2 separate regions of the Homo sapiens genome follow, and region 1 is linked to region 2. The links are contacts of gene promoters, found by promoter capture Hi-C in blood cells and fetal thymus (Javierre and others, 2016). All regions are on one chromosome and are shown on one strand. Each heading gives the region's core, a stretch centred on a gene start or on the middle of the fragment in contact. The rest is flanking DNA. Distances are from core to core; before and after follow the strand shown. Region 1 overlaps SPEN (spen family transcriptional repressor). Region 2 holds the start of RSC1A1 (regulator of solute carriers 1).

Region 1 (4,431 bases), core at 1,433-3,932, 270 kb after region 2:
GGAGAATGAATGAGTGAAGGAAGTAATTGGTCTCTGTTACAGGTGTATTTAATTTCATATAATATATGTTCTTGTGTGTAAATTTAATCCTATTTTGAATGCACCAGACAGGTCCCTGTGGGAGAAAACCTGTGGTGAGTTCCTTAAAACTGGAGGAGTTCTCTCATGGTGCTTGCAGTCATCCCTGGTTTGTTAGTTGGCAGCCTGGGGGAAAGTGACAACATTTACTGAGGCCAAGTACCTGCCTAGGATTATGTAGGAAAGTTTTTACAGATATTATCTTAATCTTTTTAACAGCTTTATGAGGAAAAGCTGCCATTTTATGAGTGAGGAGACTGAGTTCAGAGAGTTTAACCAGGTTCCAGTATTTTTTAAAAATTGTGAATTAGATAGAAGTGTTACCAGTATCATACAGGTCATATAGATGGCAAAATTTTAGTTAAAATTTTTATCTGTTTTTCTAAACAGTGGATTTATTTCCCAAGTTGTAAGAATATCTTTTTATAGAATAGTAATTTTGTGGGAGACTTAGGTAGGAGTGTGGGGATATTGTCCAGTAACTAGTGTCTGCTTTGTCACAACGCCGGAGTTACCAGAAACATTAAAAAAGGGTTGAATCACCACTGCCCAATAGAAGCATAATGTAAGTTATATAAATTCTGTATATGTAATTTTAAATTTTCTAGTAGCCACATTAAAAAGACAAAGTGAAATTTTCTTTAATATATCTAAAACGTTGTTTCAACATATAATCAGTCTAAATTGTTGTTTTTCTATAAACTAGGTCTACAAAATTGGCTGTGTATTTTACACATCTCAATTTAGCTAGATTTCAAGTGCCTAGTAGCTACTTGAAGCTATAGTGGATAGCTACTACAAACTAATCATTTCACAAATGATTAAATAATGTCAAAAGATTTTTTAGAAGCAGGAATTTCTGATTTCATATGTATGATTTTATGCATAAGTGATGAGGAAACAAAAGAACTAATATCTTTGTTATTTTTTGGCAGAGAGGAACGAAGGGCATCCTACGACTATAACCAAGATCGTACATATTATGAGAGTGTTCGAACTCCAGGCACTTATCCTGAGGATTCCAGGCGGGACTATCCAGCTCGAGGGAGAGAGTTTTATTCAGAATGGGAAACTTACCAAGGAGACTACTATGAATCACGATACTACGATGATCCTCGGGAATACAGGGATTACAGGAATGATCCTTATGAACAAGATATTAGGGAATATAGTTACAGGCAAAGGGAACGAGAAAGAGAACGTGAAAGATTTGAGTCTGACCGGGACAGAGACCATGAGAGGAGGCCGATTGAACGAAGTCAAAGTCCTGTTCACTTGCGACGTCCACAGAGTCCTGGAGCGTCTCCCTCTCAGGCAGAGAGGTTGCCGAGTGATTCTGAGAGGAGGCTTTACAGCCGATCCTCAGACCGGAGTGGAAGCTGTAGCTCACTCTCCCCTCCAAGATATGAGAAACTGGACAAGTCTCGTTTGGAGCGCTATACAAAAAATGAAAAGACAGATAAAGAACGAACTTTTGATCCGGAGAGAGTGGAGAGAGAGAGACGCTTAATACGGAAGGAAAAAGTGGAAAAGGACAAAACTGACAAGCAGAAACGCAAAGGAAAGGTTCACTCCCCTAGTTCTCAGTCTTCAGAAACGGACCAAGAAAATGAGCGAGAGCAAAGCCCTGAAAAGCCCAGGAGTTGTAATAAACTGAGCAGAGAGAAAGCTGACAAAGAGGGAATAGCGAAAAACCGCCTGGAACTCATGCCTTGCGTGGTTTTGACTCGAGTGAAAGAGAAAGAGGGAAAGGTCATTGACCACACTCCTGTGGAAAAGTTGAAAGCCAAGCTTGATAATGACACTGTCAAATCTTCTGCCCTGGACCAGAAACTTCAGGTCTCTCAGACGGAGCCTGCAAAATCTGACTTGTCTAAACTGGAATCAGTTAGAATGAAAGTACCAAAGGAAAAGGGGCTTTCAAGCCATGTTGAAGTGGTGGAGAAGGAAGGCAGGCTTAAAGCCAGGAAGCACCTCAAGCCTGAGCAGCCTGCAGATGGGGTAAGTGCTGTGGATCTGGAGAAGCTGGAAGCCAGGAAAAGGCGCTTTGCAGATTCCAATTTAAAAGCAGAAAAGCAAAAACCAGAGGTCAAGAAAAGCAGTCCAGAGATGGAGGATGCTCGCGTGCTTTCAAAAAAGCAGCCTGACGTGTCCTCTAGAGAGGTCATTCTGCTGAGGGAAGGAGAGGCTGAAAGAAAGCCTGTGAGGAAAGAAATTCTTAAAAGAGAATCTAAAAAAATCAAACTGGACAGACTTAATACTGTTGCCAGCCCCAAAGACTGTCAGGAGCTTGCCAGTATTTCTGTTGGGTCTGGCTCAAGGCCCAGCTCAGACCTACAAGCAAGACTGGGAGAACTAGCAGGTGAATCTGTGGAAAATCAAGAAGTCCAATCAAAAAAGCCCATTCCCTCAAAACCACAGCTCAAACAGCTGCAGGTATTAGATGATCAAGGACCAGAGAGAGAAGACGTTAGGAAAAACTATTGCAGTCTTCGTGATGAAACACCTGAACGTAAATCAGGCCAAGAGAAATCACATTCAGTAAATACTGAAGAAAAAATTGGCATTGACATCGATCACACGCAGAGTTACCGAAAACAAATGGAACAGAGTCGTAGGAAACAGCAGATGGAAATGGAAATAGCCAAGTCTGAGAAGTTTGGCAGTCCTAAAAAAGATGTAGATGAATATGAAAGACGTAGCCTCGTTCACGAGGTAGGCAAACCCCCTCAAGATGTCACTGATGACTCTCCTCCTAGCAAAAAGAAAAGGATGGATCATGTCGATTTTGATATCTGCACCAAGCGAGAACGGAATTACAGAAGTTCACGCCAAATCAGCGAAGATTCTGAAAGGACTGGTGGTTCTCCCAGTGTCCGACATGGTTCCTTCCATGAAGATGAGGATCCCATAGGCTCCCCTAGGCTACTGTCAGTAAAAGGGTCTCCTAAAGTAGATGAAAAAGTCCTCCCCTATTCTAACATAACAGTCAGGGAAGAGTCTTTAAAATTTAATCCTTATGATTCTAGCAGGAGAGAACAGATGGCAGATATGGCCAAAATAAAACTATCTGTCTTGAATTCTGAAGATGAACTAAATCGTTGGGACTCTCAGATGAAACAGGATGCTGGCAGATTTGATGTGAGTTTCCCAAACAGCATAATTAAGAGAGATAGCCTTCGAAAAAGGTCTGTACGAGATCTGGAACCTGGTGAGGTGCCTTCTGATTCTGACGAAGATGGTGAACACAAATCCCACTCACCCAGAGCCTCTGCATTATATGAAAGTTCTCGATTGTCTTTTTTATTGAGGGACAGAGAAGACAAGCTACGTGAGCGAGATGAAAGACTCTCTAGTTCTTTAGAAAGGAACAAATTTTACTCTTTTGCATTGGATAAGACAATCACACCAGACACTAAAGCTTTGCTTGAAAGAGCTAAATCCCTCTCTTCATCTCGTGAAGAAAATTGGTCTTTTCTTGATTGGGACTCCCGATTTGCAAATTTTCGAAACAACAAAGATAAAGAAAAGGTTGACTCTGCTCCAAGACCTATTCCATCCTGGTACATGAAAAAGAAGAAAATTAGGACTGATTCAGAAGGGAAAATGGATGATAAGAAAGAGGACCATAAAGAAGAAGAGCAAGAGAGGCAGGAATTGTTTGCTTCTCGTTTTTTACACAGCTCAATCTTTGAACAAGATTCCAAGCGATTGCAGCATCTAGAGAGAAAAGAGGAAGATTCTGACTTCATTTCTGGTAGGATCTATGGGAAGCAGACATCTGAGGGAGCAAACAGCACAACTGATTCCATTCAAGAACCAGTAGTTCTGTTCCATAGCAGATTTATGGAGCTCACACGGATGCAACAGAAAGAAAAAGAAAAAGACCAGAAACCCAAAGAGGTTGAGAAACAGGAAGATACAGAGAATCATCCCAAGACCCCAGAATCTGCTCCTGAGAATAAAGATTCAGAACTGAAAACTCCACCTTCCGTTGGGCCTCCAAGTGTCACAGTCGTAACTCTAGAATCAGCCCCATCAGCACTAGAGAAGACCACTGGTGACAAAACGGTAGAGGCGCCTTTGGTAACAGAAGAGAAGACTGTGGAGCCAGCTACCGTCTCAGAAGAAGCAAAGCCTGCATCTGAACCTGCTCCTGCCCCTGTGGAACAGCTGGAACAAGTAGACCTGCCCCCAGGAGCAGACCCCGATAAAGAAGCTGCCATGATGCCTGCGGGTGTTGAGGAAGGTTCATCAGGTGACCAGCCGCCTTATCTGGATGCCAAGCCTCCAACTCCCGGGGCCTCGTTTTCCCAGGCAGAGAGCAACGTAGATCCAGAGCCTGACAGTACC
Region 2 (4,977 bases), core at 1,967-4,466:
ACTTGGAATCTACCAGTTCCTGATTTTAAAGATGGCAAAAGAACGGAAACTATAACCCTGCATGCTGTGTGGTTTGCATTGTTAACCCAAGTTTGCTTGTCTGTTTCCTAATTCACACAGAGCGTCAGAAGCCATGATGCATGTAGTGTGTGTGTACTGCAGCTGGAGTGGGCCCCAGACCAGGTATTTATAGACACCATGTTAAGCCTTCCATCCAGTTGTCATCTGTGATCTGACAGTCTGTATCCGCAGCAGTTTGGGAAGTTAGCATTTGTCATTCACCATTTCACCTTGTTCAATCTGGTTACAACTAGCCTATATGCATTTGTATTTTGGCATGCATACATGGATATGTAACATAAACTCCTGTTTAAAAATGGATTCGTTATTAGAACCATCCAACAGGGAGAAAATCCCAGTTAAAACAGTGTCTATTATATCTACCCCATCTTGGCTACTATAAATATCACATCAAGAATATTGGCCTCACAACACTTTGTTGTTGGAGATAACTATGCTTTCATGGGTTTCATAAGTGCCTTTCCTCTGAAAAACTGAAAGCTGTTCTTTTACATTACTGCATACAACTACCTGGAGTTATAGAGGGTTAGAAATTTTAATTTTGTTGAAGAAGAAATGGAAACTTAGGCCAGAGGACTTGTCAGGGGTGACTCTGAACAACAGGAACTAAGACTTTGCTTTTCCTTCTGTCTCTGGCCTGACAGATTTTCAGGAAGCACTCTGCTTCCATTTCCTCTGATGTAAATAATGGTAAACATCAGCTCGAATACATTGGCTGACTTACTAAGAGGAGGAAAGATGGTCTTTTAAACCAGCATCATAAGACTTTGTAGGAGTTTGCAAGCTGGTTGGAATTAGATACATAGCATTTAGTTTCTCTTCTTTCTTTCCTTTTTCTTTTCCTTGTAAGGATAGGTTAAAAGCAGGCATAGTTGAATTATTCTTAATATCCACTGTCCTCATCCTCTTCTCCTGTCATTCTGTAAACTGACCTAGTCCTCCCCTACGTTTAGGACTTAGGCTAGTGAAACTGACCTTCTCAGCTACAAGAGGACTATATGCTACTTTTTTAGTACAAAATTCATTGAGGGTGTGTTCACCTTGACCTCACTTGTTTATAACTAACACACAAATACCAGAAGGCCCTTACCATACCTCTTTATGTTGCTTACATGGATATTTCACTACAGTGCATTGTTTCTGTTAACATTAGTTCAAAATTCAACCTCTTCCAGAGTCAGCCTTAGTTTTAAATAAAACTAATAACTGTTAGACATCTGGTGGTATGAAAATAAAAAAACTAATAACTGTGTTTCTAGACTCTAATGGGTATAGCCTAAACTGAGATAAGTGCAGTTTTCCTTTTTACTCCTAAAGTGTAAGTAAGGTAAGATTGTTTCATGGGAAGTCAATAGCTTCCTGAAACAATGCTTTGTCTTCTCATGCTGTTAACCAGTAGTTTATTAGAATGATTTAAAGCCTTTTGAATATAACTGCTTTGCTGCTTTTTAAGATCAAGCCCTCTTGTTGGATGTTAACATTTAGTACTGAGCATTTGAGTTGCATCTGTCCTAATAATAGATTGTATTTTGAAGTCATTTTTGTTACTGACCTTTTGATTTTTATTTTTTATTATTATTATTTTTTATTTTGACTGAGTTTCACTCTGTCACCCAGGCTGGAGTGCAGTGGTGCAGTCTTGGCTCACTGCAACCTCTCCCTCCTGGGTTCAAGCAATTCTCCCACCTCAGCCTACCTAGTAGCTGGGATTACAGGCACCCACCACCACGCCTGGCTAATTTTTGTATTTTTAGTAGAGATGAGGTTTCACCACGTTGGCCAGGCTGGTCTCGAACTCCTGACCTCAGGTGATCCACCTGCCTCGGCCTCCCAAAGTGCTGGGATTACAGGCATGAGCCACTGTGCCCAGCCCTTTTTGATTTTTAATTAAAGATCTTACAATGGTCGGGTGCGGTGGCTCTTGCCTGTAATCCAAGCACTTTGGGAGGCTGAGGCGGGCGGATCACCTGAGGTCAAGAGTTTGAGACCACCCTGACCAACGTGGAGAAACCTCATCTCTACTAAAAATGCAAAATTAGTCGGGTGTGTGGCGCATGCATGTAATCCCAGCTACTCTGAGGCAGGAGAATCGCTTGGACCCGGGAGGCGGAGGTTGCGGTGAGCTCAGATGGCGCCATTGTACTCCTGTCTGGGCAACAAGAGCAAAACACAGTCTTAAAAAAAAAAAAAAATTCTTACACTTACATGCGTAGAGGTCAATTTTTAACTGGATTGGTGGCAAAAGAAGAGCTGGAAATGATGTTTAATGATACTATGATGCTTACACTGAGCCGTCTTGTTTGGGTGGTCTAAGGTAGCAGTGAATCTAAATAGTCATTGCCAGTTGAAAAACTATTAATGAACCATCTCCCTCCACATTCCCCTTTCTTTAAAACATTTAAATATTCTTAACTTAGTTGCACACTATTGATGTGATAAAAACTTATAAGCCTTTTAAGTTTAGAGTTGTATTATTTGGTAGGATGATGATTGTGATTTAATCTGCTGATCATTAGTTTACTTTTGTTTTCTGAGTCAGATGCTCACCCAGTTTTACCATGATTTTTGGAAAGCTTGGCTAGAAATAAAATAGAACATTTGCTTCTCTGTCCCCAAGCATTATGTTATTTCTTATTTCTCTTTATAATTCCCTCTCTGTCCAGGTATACCTGGTTTAAGACTTCTCATTTGTAACCTCAGTGTTCACATTTGAAACAAGAAAAGTGCATTAACATGAGAATCATTCTGGTGCAAAGATTCTCAGGATTTGTAATATCCTTAAGAATCACCCAAGGAGCTTATTGAAAATGCACATTCCTGGATTTACTCTCAAGTATGGTACCCCAGGGTCTGCATACTTCACAAGCGTCCCTGGTGGTTTTAGGGCAAGTGGTGAAAAAAGTACACTTGGAGAAACTATTCTAGAGTTGTAGACTAGACTAGGGAATAAAGAAACATAAATGTCCTTCATTCCTGAGCACTAACCCCGCCATTATGTGAATGCATATTAATGGATACTTAATCACATTGAATTACAGTATGCAGATTTTATTAAGAACATGTCTACCTCTTATTCTGATGCTGTGAATGTCTACCACAATGAGAAAGTAATTTTAAAATCATTTCTATTTGTGTAAGAGAAACCCGAGTTTGAGGACCTTATTTTATTCTACGCTGTTTAGATTTGTATCCTCTGGTAATTTAGTGGCATTAGTCACCTGCTAATTAATCTTTTTCCTTTCCCCTGTGTTCCATATAGAGAAAAGTGGTAAAGAATCTACCTCACTGGGAATGTCATCATTACCAACTTCAGATGGGTTTAACCATCCCGCCCGTTCTTCAGGACAGAGTCCTGATGTTGGTAATCCTATGAGTCTTGCTCGCTCTGTCTCTGCTTCAGTCTGCCCTATCAAGCCCAGTGACTCAGATCGCATTGAACCTAAAGCTGTGAAGGCTTTGAAGGCTTCAGCTGAATTCCAGCTAAACTCTGAAAAGAAAGAACATCTTTCTTTACAAGATCTTTCTGATCATGCTTCCTCAGCAGACCATGCTCCAACAGACCAGAGTCCAGCTATGCCTATGCAGAATTCATCCGAAGAAATAACTGTTGCAGGTAATCTGGAGAAATCTGCTGAAAGAAGCACCCAGGGCCTCAAATTTCATCTCCATACAAGACAGGAAGCTAGTTTATCTGTCACATCTACTAGGATGCATGAACCACAGATGTTTCTAGGTGAAAAGGATTGGCATCCAGAAAATCAGAACCTGAGTCAAGTGAGTGACCCTCAGCAGCACGAAGAACCAGGGAATGAACAGTATGAGGTTGCACAACAAAAAGCTTCACATGACCAAGAATATCTTTGTAACATAGGGGACCTTGAGCTTCCTGAAGAAAGGCAACAGAATCAACACAAAATTGTTGATTTGGAAGCTACGATGAAAGGAAATGGGCTCCCACAGAATGTGGATCCTCCAAGTGCGAAGAAAAGTATTCCATCTTCAGAATGCAGTGGCTGCTCAAATTCAGAAACATTTATGGAAATCGATACAGCTCAACAGTCCCTAGTTACTTTGCTTAATTCAACAGGCAGGCAGAATGCCAATGTCAAGAACATTGGTGCATTGGATCTCACTTTAGATAATCCCTTGATGGAAGTAGAAACATCAAAATGTAACCCTTCATCTGAAATTTTGAATGATTCCATTTCCACTCAGGATTTACAGCCCCCAGAAACTAATGTTGAAATACCTGGAACAAATAAAGAATATGGCCATTACTCCTCTCCAAGTCTCTGTGGCAGTTGTCAGCCTTCTGTGGAGTCAGCAGAAGAATCTTGCCCGTCTATAACGGCAGCCTTGAAAGAACTTCATGAACTTTTGGTTGTTAGCAGTAAACCAGCTTCAGAAAATACATCTGAAGAAGTAATCTGTCAATCAGAAACCATAGCTGAGGGCCAAACCAGTATTAAAGACCTTTCTGAAAGATGGACCCAAAATGAGCATCTTACCCAGAATGAACAGTGTCCACAAGTCTCCTTTCATCAGGCCATATCTGTATCAGTGGAGACAGAAAAATTAACAGGTACTTCATCTGACACTGGAAGAGAAGCTGTAGAAAATGTAAACTTCAGGAGTCTAGGTGATGGCCTGTCAACCGATAAGGAAGGTGTCCCCAAATCTAGGGAATCCATAAATAAGAACCGTTCTGTCACTGTAACCTCAGCTAAAACATCCAATCAGTTACACTGCACCTTAGGTGTAGAAATTTCACCCAAACTTTTAGCAGGTGAGGAGGATGCACTCAATCAGACTTCTGAGCAAACTAAGTCTTTGTCATCCAATTTCATATTGGTTAAAGACTTAGGTCAGGGCATACAGAATTCAGTAACAGACAGG

What was found. The method cuts DNA at HindIII sites, captures the fragments that hold promoters and counts their contacts. A CHiCAGO score of 5 or more calls a contact.
Region 1: a fragment that was not itself captured here is called in contact with the fragment with the promoter of RSC1A1 in region 2 in 1 of 17 cell types (naive B cells); the score reaches 5.3 in naive B cells.

What each region holds. Positions count from the first base shown.
Region 1 is chr1:15,927,078-15,931,508 of GRCh38, forward strand. SPEN (spen family transcriptional repressor) reads left to right here. Exons shown (of 15, transcript NM_015001.3): 11 at 1,014-4,431. Among named protein-coding and RNA genes, the nearest start is that of ZBTB17, 47 kb to the right of the region's middle. The HindIII fragment of the contact is 1,630 bases long and covers 1,868-3,497 here.
Region 2 is chr1:15,656,497-15,661,473 of GRCh38, forward strand. It overlaps RSC1A1 (regulator of solute carriers 1), which reads left to right and starts at 3,217. Exons shown (of 1, transcript NM_006511.3): 1 at 3,217-4,977. The coding sequence starts at 3,373. It overlaps DDI2 (DDI proteasomal shuttling factor 2), which reads left to right. Exons shown (of 10, transcript NM_032341.5): 9 at 121-183; 10 at 3,341-4,977. The coding sequence ends at 137. The HindIII fragment of the contact is 1,265 bases long and covers 2,653-3,917 here.